Regions from separate parts of the Homo sapiens genome. Here regions 2 and 3 are each linked to region 1. The links are contacts of gene promoters, found by promoter capture Hi-C in blood cells and fetal thymus (Javierre and others, 2016). All regions are on one chromosome and are shown on one strand. The core of a region is centred on a gene start or on the middle of the fragment in contact, and the rest is flanking DNA. Distances in the headings are between cores, read along the strand shown. Region 1 holds the start of HAVCR1 (hepatitis A virus cellular receptor 1). Region 2 has its middle 90 kb from the start of KIF4B. Region 3 has its middle 120 kb from the start of KIF4B.

What was found. The method cuts DNA at HindIII sites, captures the fragments that hold promoters and counts their contacts. A CHiCAGO score of 5 or more calls a contact.
Region 2: a fragment that was not itself captured here is called in contact with the fragment with the promoter of HAVCR1 in region 1 in 1 of 17 cell types (naive B cells); the score reaches 5.3 in naive B cells.
Region 3: a fragment that was not itself captured here is called in contact with the fragment with the promoter of HAVCR1 in region 1 in 2 of 17 cell types (M2 macrophages and M0 macrophages); the score reaches 8.4 in M2 macrophages.

The regions. Positions count from the first base shown.
Region 1 is chr5:157,057,195-157,060,839 of GRCh38, reverse strand. HAVCR1 (hepatitis A virus cellular receptor 1) reads left to right here and starts at 1,724. Exons shown (of 9, transcript NM_001173393.3): 1 at 1,724-1,919; 2 at 2,885-2,942. The coding sequence starts at 2,897. The HindIII fragment of the contact is 9,361 bases long and covers 1,609-3,645 here.
Region 2 is chr5:155,102,317-155,105,961 of GRCh38, reverse strand. No RefSeq gene overlaps it. Among named protein-coding and RNA genes, the nearest start is that of KIF4B, 90 kb to the right of the region's middle. The HindIII fragment of the contact is 4,206 bases long and covers 1-3,645 here.
Region 3 is chr5:155,128,242-155,131,886 of GRCh38, reverse strand. No RefSeq gene overlaps it. Among named protein-coding and RNA genes, the nearest start is that of KIF4B, 120 kb to the right of the region's middle. The HindIII fragment of the contact is 3,905 bases long and covers 52-3,645 here.

The DNA of each region.
Region 1 (3,645 bases), core at 475-2,974:
GCTGCTGTAGTGCACGACACTCACACAGAATAACTCTGTAACCAATATTCTACTGGAGACAGAATCGATCCTATGGAATTCAAATTCAAATCCTATGGAATTGTACAGTTATGTAACATCTCAGAGCACTGGCTCCACATCCCTGTCTTGGCTCTCTGTGGCTCATCAGTTCCAGAATAACTCCGTTACCAGAATAACTCCATTACTAAAATTCTACCGGGCAGCACTCTATAGGAGGGAATAGAGACAGACACCACATATATTGCACACACAGATAAAATGGATTAAGGAAAACAAGATAATAATAGTGAGAGGGACTGGTTGGCTACTTTAGATTGAAGGACCTGTGAAAAATGTCCAGGGAGGTCATATTTAAGCCGGGATAAAAATGAAAAGGAAAAAAGTGAAAATGGTGGGGCTGGGGAGCTAGATGGAGAACACAGCCACGGAAAAGGCCTTAGGGTTGAGGCAAGTTGGAAAGAAAGCTCTAGTAGCTGGGGCTGAGTCAGCAGGGGAGAGAGTGGTAGAAGAAATCTATGGGGTAGGTCAGGGCCAGACCACCAGGGCTTCAGTAATTTGAGTAAAGATTTAGGAATTATTATTATTATTATTATTATTATTTTTCTGAGAGAGTTATGAGAGGGTTATAAGTGGGGGAATGATGTAGTCTGATTATATATTTACCTTTACCTCACTTATCCTGATTTCATTAGTTGCTTACTTACCCATGTCCCTGCCCGATTGCACAAGTCTGGATTTTTGACGTCCCTAGTATATTGAGTCATGTCCCATCAGCTCAATATGTTAGTAATAACTGGTTGAATTGAATTAGCTTTTTTTTTTCAATCTTTTTTTCCTTAAGAAACAGGGTCTTGCTCTGTCACCCCGGCTGGTGTGCAGTGGCACAATCATAGCCTCCAACTGCTGGGCTCAAGCAACCCTCCTGCCTCAGCCTCCTGAGTAGCTGGGACTACGGTCAGGTACACAAGGCCTGACTATATTTTTTGTTCGTTTTTTTTGCAGAGAGGGAGTCTTGCTATGTTGCCCAGGTTGGTCTCAAACTCCTTACCTCAGGTGATCCACTTGCCTTGGCCTCCCAAAGTGTTGGGATTACAGGCGTGAGCCACTGTGCCTGGCAAGAAATGAATTTTTATTTTTATTTTTGAGATGGAGTTTTGTTCTTGTTGTCCAGGCTAGAGTGCAATGGCTTGATCTCGGCTCACTGCAACCTCCACCTTCCAGGTTCAAGCAATTCTTCTACCTCAGCCTCCTAAGTAGCTGGGATTACAGGCGCCCGCCACCACCCCCAGCTAATTTTTGTATTTTTAGTAGAGTCGGGGTTTCACCGTGTTAGCCAGGCTGGTCTTGAACTCCCGACCTCAGGTGACTGGCCTACTCGGCCTCCCAAAGTGCTGGGGTTACAGGCACGAGCCACCATGCCCGGTCAAGAAATGAATTTTTAAACGCTGCCATACAAAACACTATGCTGAGATCATCCACTTCCCCATGAACCCTGTCATGAGCTGCAAGATACAGACCACCACTGCCTCCTTGGAAGTTACTGAATTCTTAGACCAGAAGAGGAGTTAATGAAGTACTAGGCAAGCTTACTCATGTTTGTATGGTTTAATGATTAACAGCAGAAGTCAACAGCCCGATTTAACGCATGTGGGTGCTTGACACAGAGCCTGCTATATAGTATTCTCCAAAAACCTCAGCTAGTGCTATTACTGCATATGATGTAGGTTTAGTTTTCCAAGTTCTTCCGTGGCCCTTTTTGCTTATTATATCAATCCTTGGTGGGAGATAGAGGAAGCATTTTTAGTGCTATTTTACAACTGAGGAAATAGAGGTTTGAAGAGAACTCAGGAACTCTCAGGGTTACCCAGCATTGTGAGTGACAGAGCCTGGATCTGAACGTAAGTCTGCTCCAGACTTCTGTTTCCTGAAGCATTCTCTTGAAGTCCCTTGGTAAGGAGGTGTAGTCTGAAGCATGTTGTACAGGAGCATGAAAGGTTAGGCACAGTGATTCACATTCACTCTCAATTTCTCTTGCTAATGGCAAACTTGGCAATATGACTGTTAAGGCTAGGGATAAGTCGTTGTGGCCACTGAGTAGGAAAAGCTCCACGTCCACCAGAGGCCCAGTTTACTCTGAAAAGCAAGTGCATCTCTGCCACTGGAAGGCTGGCATTTGCTCTCGTGCTGCCATTGAGCCACGCTGGTTCTCTGCTTCCAGTTTCCTTTTCTTTTCTTTTTTTTTGTTTTGTTTTTTGAGACGGAGTCTTGCTCTGTCGCCCAGGCTGGAGTGCAGTGGCGCGATCTCGGCTCACCGCAAGCTCCGCCTCCCGCGGGTTCACGCCATTCTCCTGCCTCAGCCTCCCGAGTAGCTGGGACTACAGGCGCCAGTGACCACGCCCGGCTAATTTTTTGTATTTTTAGTAGAGACGGGGTTTCACCCTTTTAGCCAGGATGGTCTCGATCTCCTGACTTCGTGATCTGCCCGCCTTGGCCTCCCAAAGTGCTAGGATTACAGGTTTGAGCCACCGCGCCCGGCCCTGTTTCCTTTTTGTTTGTTCCCCTGATACCCTGTATCAGGACCAGGAGTCAGTTTGGCGGTTATGTGTGGGGAAGAAGCTGGGAAGTCAGGGGCTGTTTCTGTGGACAGCTTTCCCTGTCCTTTGGAAGGCACAGAGCTCTCAGCTGCAGGGAACTAACAGAGCTCTGAAGCCGTTATATGTGGTCTTCTCTCATTTCCAGCAGAGCAGGCTCATATGAATCAACCAACTGGGTGAAAAGATAAGTTGCAATCTGAGATTTAAGACTTGATCAGATACCATCTGGTGGAGGGTACCAACCAGCCTGTCTGCTCATTTTCCTTCAGGCTGATCCCATAATGCATCCTCAAGTGGTCATCTTAAGCCTCATCCTACATCTGGCAGGTAAGTGAGTAGGTGCCCTGGGCGGGAAGAAGGGAGTAGAGGGGGGTTAGAAGCCAGAGAATGGGGTAGGGGAAGGGGAGGGGATGGTGGTGGTGGATTAATGTAGATGTTCTTTGGGTACCGTTGTATGGCTATGAGTTAACTAGTGAGCAGGACCAGAATAAAGTTTTAGGCCAAAGAAATTGCTTAACTGCTGTGAATTACAACATTCATGGCTAAATGAACAAGGCAAGATGCAGCACAGTGTGTCACAGGCTGCCCTTTGTGTTTAAACAAAAAGGGTGTGGTTAGATGTATATGCATAGACACATGTATATAGGAAATAGTGACAGTGGGTAATGTGGGATGGGGGCAGAGGGTGGGAGGTGGAGGGAGAGTTAATCCTTATTGTATTTTTTTGTGCCTTCCGATTTTTTTCAGCCACATTCAATTCTCTTTCTTTCTTTCTTTCTTTCTTTCTTTCTTTCTTTCTTTCTTTCTTTCTTTCTTTCTTTCTTTCTTTCTTTCTTTCCTCTCTCTCTCTCTCTCTCTCTCTTCATGAGGTCTCACTCTGGAGTGCAGTAGGGCAATCTTTTTTTTTTTGAGACAGAGTCTCACTCTGTCGCCCAGGCTAGAGTTCAGTGGCGTGATCTCGGCTCACTGCAGCCTCCGCCTCCTGGGTTCAAGCAATTCTCTGCCTCAGTCTCCCAAGTAGCTGGGATTA
Region 2 (3,645 bases), core at 314-2,813, 2.0 Mb after region 1:
AAAGGGAAAAGGAGTTTGTGCACTCAAGTCAAAAGGGCTAGTTGAAGGAGCATTAGAAAAGAAAATTAAGTTGCTGCACATGTGCTGAGTCATGAAGCTATTGTGGGAAGACCTCCGAATCTTCAAGTAAGGGCTGGAAGGTAAGAAAATATTGAGTAATCCCAGCACTTCGGGAGGCTGAGGTGGAGGTCAGGAGATCGAGACCAGCCTGGCCAACATGGTGAAACCCTGTCTCTACTAAAAATTACAAAAATTAGCCAGGCATGGTGGTGCACACCTGTAATCTCAGCTACTCTGGAGGCTGAGGCAGGTGAATTACTTGAACCTGAGAGGCGGAGGTTGCAATGAGTGGAGATCATGCCACTGCACTCCAGCCTGGGCAACAGAGAGAGACTCTGTCTCAAAAAAAAGAAAAGAAAAGAAAAGAAATATTGAACAGGCAAGGTACAAAAAAAGTGTTATGGTGTTTATGTGATGTCATTGGTCTCTAATTTTCTTAAGAGCTCAGTTGGACTCCAAGGAATAAGTAAAAAATTAGAGAATTCTTTTAAAACTTGTGACAATACCAACCCGAGAGAGGTTACATTAAGATGGCAGAGCATGGAAGATTCTTTACATCCATGATGACAATCTAAATCATCTCTTTTTCCCAATTCAAATAAGACCCTGTCTTTATACCACTTTGTACAAATCTATGGACGAATCCAACAATTAAACTGGATTGTTGTCCAACCCTCTAAGGGAGGATCACCAAGGTAGTATGAGAGAAGAGAAGTTAAATGACTTTAAAACTTACAAAGATTTTTACTTTTGGCAACTTCTAAGACATTAGCCCCCGTCTTCAGACTCCAAGTCTGATATTGTCTAGCCAGCACCCTGCTCTGGGAGGGACAGTAAGCACATAGCCTGCATGTTCTAAGTCCCTGACGTCTATGGCAGGTACCCCAAGTGACATTATTATCACCCTGGCCAGGACGCAGCCCTCAAAACCTTATTCACATCATATTCTAAGTAGCCACCATTAATGGATCAGAACTTGCATCCAAAATGAACCTTCTTTGTCTTTGCTGATTTGGAGCAGGAGCCCTTCTTCAGCATGAAGCTGATTTTCTCCCTTCCTCCCCCAGAGCACATTTGACTCAACCTTCATGATCTATCAACCAAAGATTCTGAGCTGAATCAAAGTCCCCTTTCCATGCATATCTTGAACATAAAGGTTTTCCCTGAATCAAGTCCAATGTTAATCCATTTAATGCCTTCCTTTTTATACTGCTTTTAACTTTTTCAAAAGCATTTGAAATTACATTACTATTTCATTCTCAGAAAATCCCTGTGAGCTAGGTTAAGCAAGTAGTATTATCTCCAAGAGAACTAAGGCCCAGAGAATTGAAATCAATCACAGAAAATCATGCAGTGAGTTAAAGGGAAAATGGGGTTGAACATCCAGGGAGCCTAGCGGCCATTCCGCACTCTTCACATGATGTTACCCTGCCTTAAATTTATCTAGATCTCCTGGGGGGGTTGAGGGGAGCTGCTTCCTCCTCTCAGGTTACTCTTTTCCACTTGCGCTTGAACTCTACACACACACAAACACACACACAACACACACACATGTGCCTGCACACATATGCAAACAGGGATACACATGTGCATATAGAGAAACCTGCACACAGAAAGATACTTGCATAGAAAGGAATATACTCACATGCCAAAACACACAGAGAGACAGGCTTACACATGCCCAGAGACAGGAAACAGAGATATAGAGGGATACATTCAGAAAGACACACACAGGTTACTTCATATTGCATGCCTGTATCAAAACATCTCATGTACCCCACAAGTATATACACACCTACTATATACCTGCAAAAGAGCTCAACTGGGCTCTAGAGAATAAGTAAAAAATTAGATAATTCACAAAAACTAAAAATAAAAATAAATTTTATAAGACACACAGACGGCCGGCCGCGGTGGCTCATGCCTATAATCCCAGCACTTTGGAAGGCCGAGGTGGGTGGATCACCTGAGGTCAGGAGTTTGAGACCAGCCTGATCAACATGGTGAAACTCCTTCTCTACTAAAAAATACGAAAATTAGCCAGGCATGATGGCGGGCGCCTGTAATCCCAGCTACTCGGGATGCTGAGGCGGAAGAATCGCTTGAACCCAGGAGGTGGATGTTGCAGTGAGCCAAGATCACGCCATTGCACTCCAGCCTGGGCGACAGAGCTAGACTCCATCTCAAAAAAAAAAAAAGACACACAGGCACAAAGAGATGCACACACAGACACATACACAGAGACACACACACAGACATATACACACACAGCAATCACATAGAGATATACAAACACAGACACGTGTAGAAACACATACAGAAATACAACAGAGGAAGATACAGAGACACACTCAGAAAGACACACACACACAGACAGGAAGACTTATAAACAGACTTTCTAACAACTTTGATTTCATCCGCCCACTATGGAACATCCCATTTTTTCTGTGGGACGCTTCCAATATGAGTCATGGAAAACATCCCTGACTTTGTTCCACAAAGAACAGGCCTCCTTGTGTGAGCTCAGTGATAAGGCAATGTTAGATGGGAGATTATGGCTCTCAGCAGAACTGGCATATGGCGATCTGTACAGCACTCATCCACTTATTAATCAATCATTCATAACCTAGTTTGTGCTGAGATATTCTCAGAGGCTGTTATGCTTATTATGAGGAATCAGGAATGCATTGTAGCTGTCACATTGGGTTCTGATGACCCCATCTGGGGGCCGAATCCCTATTGTAACTGTCACATTTGCTTTAAGAACACGCTACTTGTGCATCCCCTGATTTCCCAGGAACAGGAGCATTTGCTCTTGGTACTAAAAATTGCAATAGATCTCTATGAAGAGGCAAGGGGAGAAAAGGAACAAATATAAGAGTGAGAAAGTACAAGCATGAAAAAGAATTCAAACTGTGGTCTTATCGAGGACCCTAGTCTATGGACATAATGAAAGCCATCTTTAACTTCTTTCTTAAACCCCTCCTAATTAGGCCAGACTCTCCTTATAGAAAGTTTATGCAGACACTGTAAGTCACCTCCCCAAATCCATTCCCTTGAGTTTCCTCCACGGTGGCAGACCCTAATTTCGGAAGAGTATTTGCCCATTCCGTAGGACCTTATGCTTAAAGAAAGCCATCCTATCTTCAGCCCAAGGGGAATGGATCTTGATTAGGCTAAGCTGAGCAGGGCAAATGACGTTATTTTTGCCAGTTTGGGAAAGGACATACAGCCCGATTCTCACCAAGGAGATGTGAGGAGAAGCCTGCTGGTGGGACTTCAGGGAAACGTTTTCCTTTTCTACCCTTGGATGTTAATGTGTGAGATTGTGACACATAGAGCATAGAGTTGCTGTAGCCCTCTTTTTTTTTAGACAGGATCTTGCTTTGTCACCCAGGCTGGAGTGCGGTGGTGCGGTCACAGCTTACTGAAGCCGCTCAAGCGATCCTCCCACCTCAACCTCCCAAGTAGCTGGGAATACAGGTGCATGCCACCATGCCCAGCTAATTTTTTTGTATTTTTTGTGGAGATGGGGTTTTACCATATTACCCAAGATGCTGCAGCACTCTTAATAATCGTGAAAAA
Region 3 (3,645 bases), core at 755-3,254, 1.9 Mb after region 1:
AGGATGAAGAAATTGTGGGTCATTTTCCATTTTCCTTATTTTTTTAAAGCTTTGGATTTTTTTAATAAATAAAGAAGTACTTAATAAAAAAATTAAGATAAAATATACACACAAACATATCTGGAAATACAGGGGAGAGATGAGAAATTAAGATAAAATAAGGACATAAATCTGGAAATGATACAGACAGGAGACAAGGAAATACTGGGTAGAAGTGGGCAGTTCCCTGGAAAAGGTCCCACCCTCAAGCCTGGATACTCACAGCCCTAAGTGAGAATGGGCACTCCTGTTTTGGCACCCAAAAAGTTGCCTTTTGGCCTGCCACTCCCACCTATCCTGTACCCATATAAACCCTGAACCCCAGGCTCCAGAAGCAGGAGAGGAACAGATGAGGAGATGGGCGGCAGAACGGCGTGGCAGAGGAGAAAACAGAAAGTGAACGTTGGGAGGAGTTCAGCTGGGGACGGTCAGAGAATCAGCAGCTGGATAGCCAAATTCCAGAGGAAGATCATCTTTCTACTCCATCCCTTGTCCACCTCCCCATCCATCCCACTGAGAGCCACCTCCACCACCCAATAAAACCCCTCATTCATCATCAAGTCCATGTGTCACCTGATTCTTCCAAGACACTGGACAAGAGCTCGGGATACAGAAAGCTGTCATACTGGCCCTCTGCCTTTGCAAGAAAGGGTTCCTGCACCTGTCCATCTGCGTGCTCCCCCTCCCATAAGGGGTTTGAGCAGCGGCAGCAACCAAACAGACAAGCCACACCACTGTTGCATGTCCTGCGAGGGGACTCAGAGGACTCTCCTGTTTCAGAAATACAAGGGAGAGATTTTCCCTGACTAAGAAGATCTAGGAAAATGTTGTAGAGGTGGGGCCTTTTCCATAAGGTTGAGAAGGATGGAAAAACAAAATAGGTCACATATGGGGAGAAAATCCTCCAGGGAGACACAAAAGAAACAGCTAAGGAAGAATGGCAGAAGATTAGGTGACCTGTTCAGGGTGGGCAGCCCAGCATGATGAATGATGACTATAGGGCAGGGAAAAGCCAAACAGTTATTTGGCTCAATTTGTTGAAGGTCTTAAAAGCTCAGGTTCTTAGGCAAAGGAGAGACATGGCCAGAGTTTTGTTTAAGGTGGCAGCAAGGAGAATGGAATTGAAGAGAAAGAGCTTAGAGCCAGGGTCACTGGTTGGGAGAATCACTGCCAGGGTGTTTCAAAAGTCCCTTCCCGAAAAGATTTTGTTTATGCTGTTGGCATTGTGAAAGTACAATTGCATATAAACATGTGTGGTATTACCTTGAAATATGTTTGAAGGCACCTATGACTACATATCTCTTCTGTACATCTAATTTATTTTAAGCTAAGTGTGGTATATAAAATGCTTGATGGCAAAATTGAACTCAAGTATTTCTGGTTTCTTCTGGGGTAAAGAAAGGCTTGTGTGAGAAGCTAGGAACCAAATAAGTCTGAGTCTGTAAAGTTGAAGGTAGAATTGAGGTCAAAATGCAAACAGCATCAAAAACTTCAGCTATAGCTTAAGTAGGCATAAGGTCATGGTGAGTGTGTGTTGAAACTTCCAGGAGGTTCTGCAGCTTAAACTTTCTCCATATGGTTGGGTTATGAATACTTCACTCTTCTCTGAACCAAGAGTTTTTAAAATATTGCTGCTTGGCTTTGATCAACTGAAAGTATATACTCTTCCAACTTGACAAAGCCCATATAAAATTACAGAAAAATTCAGGAATCAAAGTTTAGCTGCATCCAGCCTAAAACCCATAACTTGTACCAACAAACCACAGTTTAATCCATGGCCAACTTTCTGTCTACCTGAATGATGGTTTGAGACGTTCAGTGATGTTAAAACAGGCTGGCAAGGATTCTTCACTTCCAGATCCAAAGATTGTTTACAGGTAGTTGAGCCATAGCCATTGAAAATGATCAACCTTATTTCAAAAATAACCTTGTTGTTTTATCACCCAATAAACTGTCCACTTGTGGGAATAAGTGTTTGAGAACTTTATTGTCCACACAAGAGATCATGAGACAGAAATAAGATAGAGGTGAGAAAATGGGGGTGTGCATAGGAAAGGGAAGGTATTTCAGGGATAGGAATTACAATGTGTGATGACTAAGTATGGAGATTAAGAACCAGAGGGAACAAAGATGAAATATTCACTCAGTCAACAGTTATGTACTGCATACTCACTATATGATCAACATTGTGCTGGGTGTGAAGGTTACAGCTGTGATGTACATATTGCTCACTATCTGGTAGACATCACAGATAAGGAGAAAATTACCACAAAGTAGAGGAAACAGATGATGCTGTGGAAACAGCAACACCAAATTCTAACCTAGTCAAGAGGCATCGAAAAAGATTTCCAAGAGGAATCAATATTAAAGTTGAGACCTAACAGGCACCATATAAAAATTAGCCATGTGAATGGGAGATCACAAGGCAGGGGAGATGAGTCAAGGCGTGTGCCCTGAGTCAGACTTTGCAGATTCAAATCTTGGCACTGGCGCTGCCATTAGCTGGTTGTGTGACCTTGGGTAAGTTACTAATTCTCTTTGTGTCTCATTGTCATTATATATTAAGTAGGGATAATAATTCCTTCCTCATAGGGCTATGATAAAAGCCAAATTAAATAAACAAAGAGTTCTTGGCACAGAGACTGGCGCAGGGTATGTGCCAAATAAATGGCAGCACTCTCTTTGTTATTAAGAAGGAACAGCATCTGCAAAGGCTAAAAGGTAAGAAAGAACATGGCAGTTTCAAGGAAAGTAGTTCAGTGTTGCCAGAGTGTTGGGGAAACAGCAAATTATGAGCCTGGAGAGGAGGAGCAAAGGCAAAGTCAAGGAGGCTCTTTTAATATGATTTCTACGGTAATACAGTGCATAGTGATGTCACTAGAGAAGGCACGGACTTGGAGAGAAATCCAGAGCATTTTCGGGATGACTTCACAACCACCTTATGACCACTTTTGAGGTGCATGCACTTCCAGGAGGGAAAAACAGTGTGGTTGTGATTCAGCTAAGAGCTACAAATGATGACAAGAAACCAGGGGCTCAGGAGTGGTAGGAAACAAGAAGGAAGCTGAGTCCTTGGACAAAAGCTCTTGGAGCAGGAATGGGCCCCTTAGAATGGCACAGCAGAGGGGAAGGGCACCTCTGCCCTTTATCTGGACTCGACTGCTGACCCTGCCAGTTACTTACATGTGACCAAACCACTCTCTTTCTCTGTATCTTAATAAACAGGGAGGCAGCCTAGATCCGTCATTCTTAACCCAGAAACCACAGATACTATGAATCCATGAAGATGCTAACAGAGGTTCAATCTATTCTCAATTACTTTTTTTAAACCCCAAGGCCATACTAGTTCTTTCAAGCTGATCCAAAGCTCCTGTAGGCATTGCACATCTTTAATTAATTTATAACTGAGTGAATAAATTAATTATACCATTAAATTCAGTTACTACTCTTAGAAATTGAAAAATAAAGAAGAAAAAGGGTGCTAGTAGTAAAAGATTTGACACCACTAGACTGAATGTTTGATAAGGCCATTCCGGCTCTCATATTCTGGAAGCCTACCTTCACCTGTCAGCTATTTCATTGTCTATAAAGGTTTACATTCTTGGG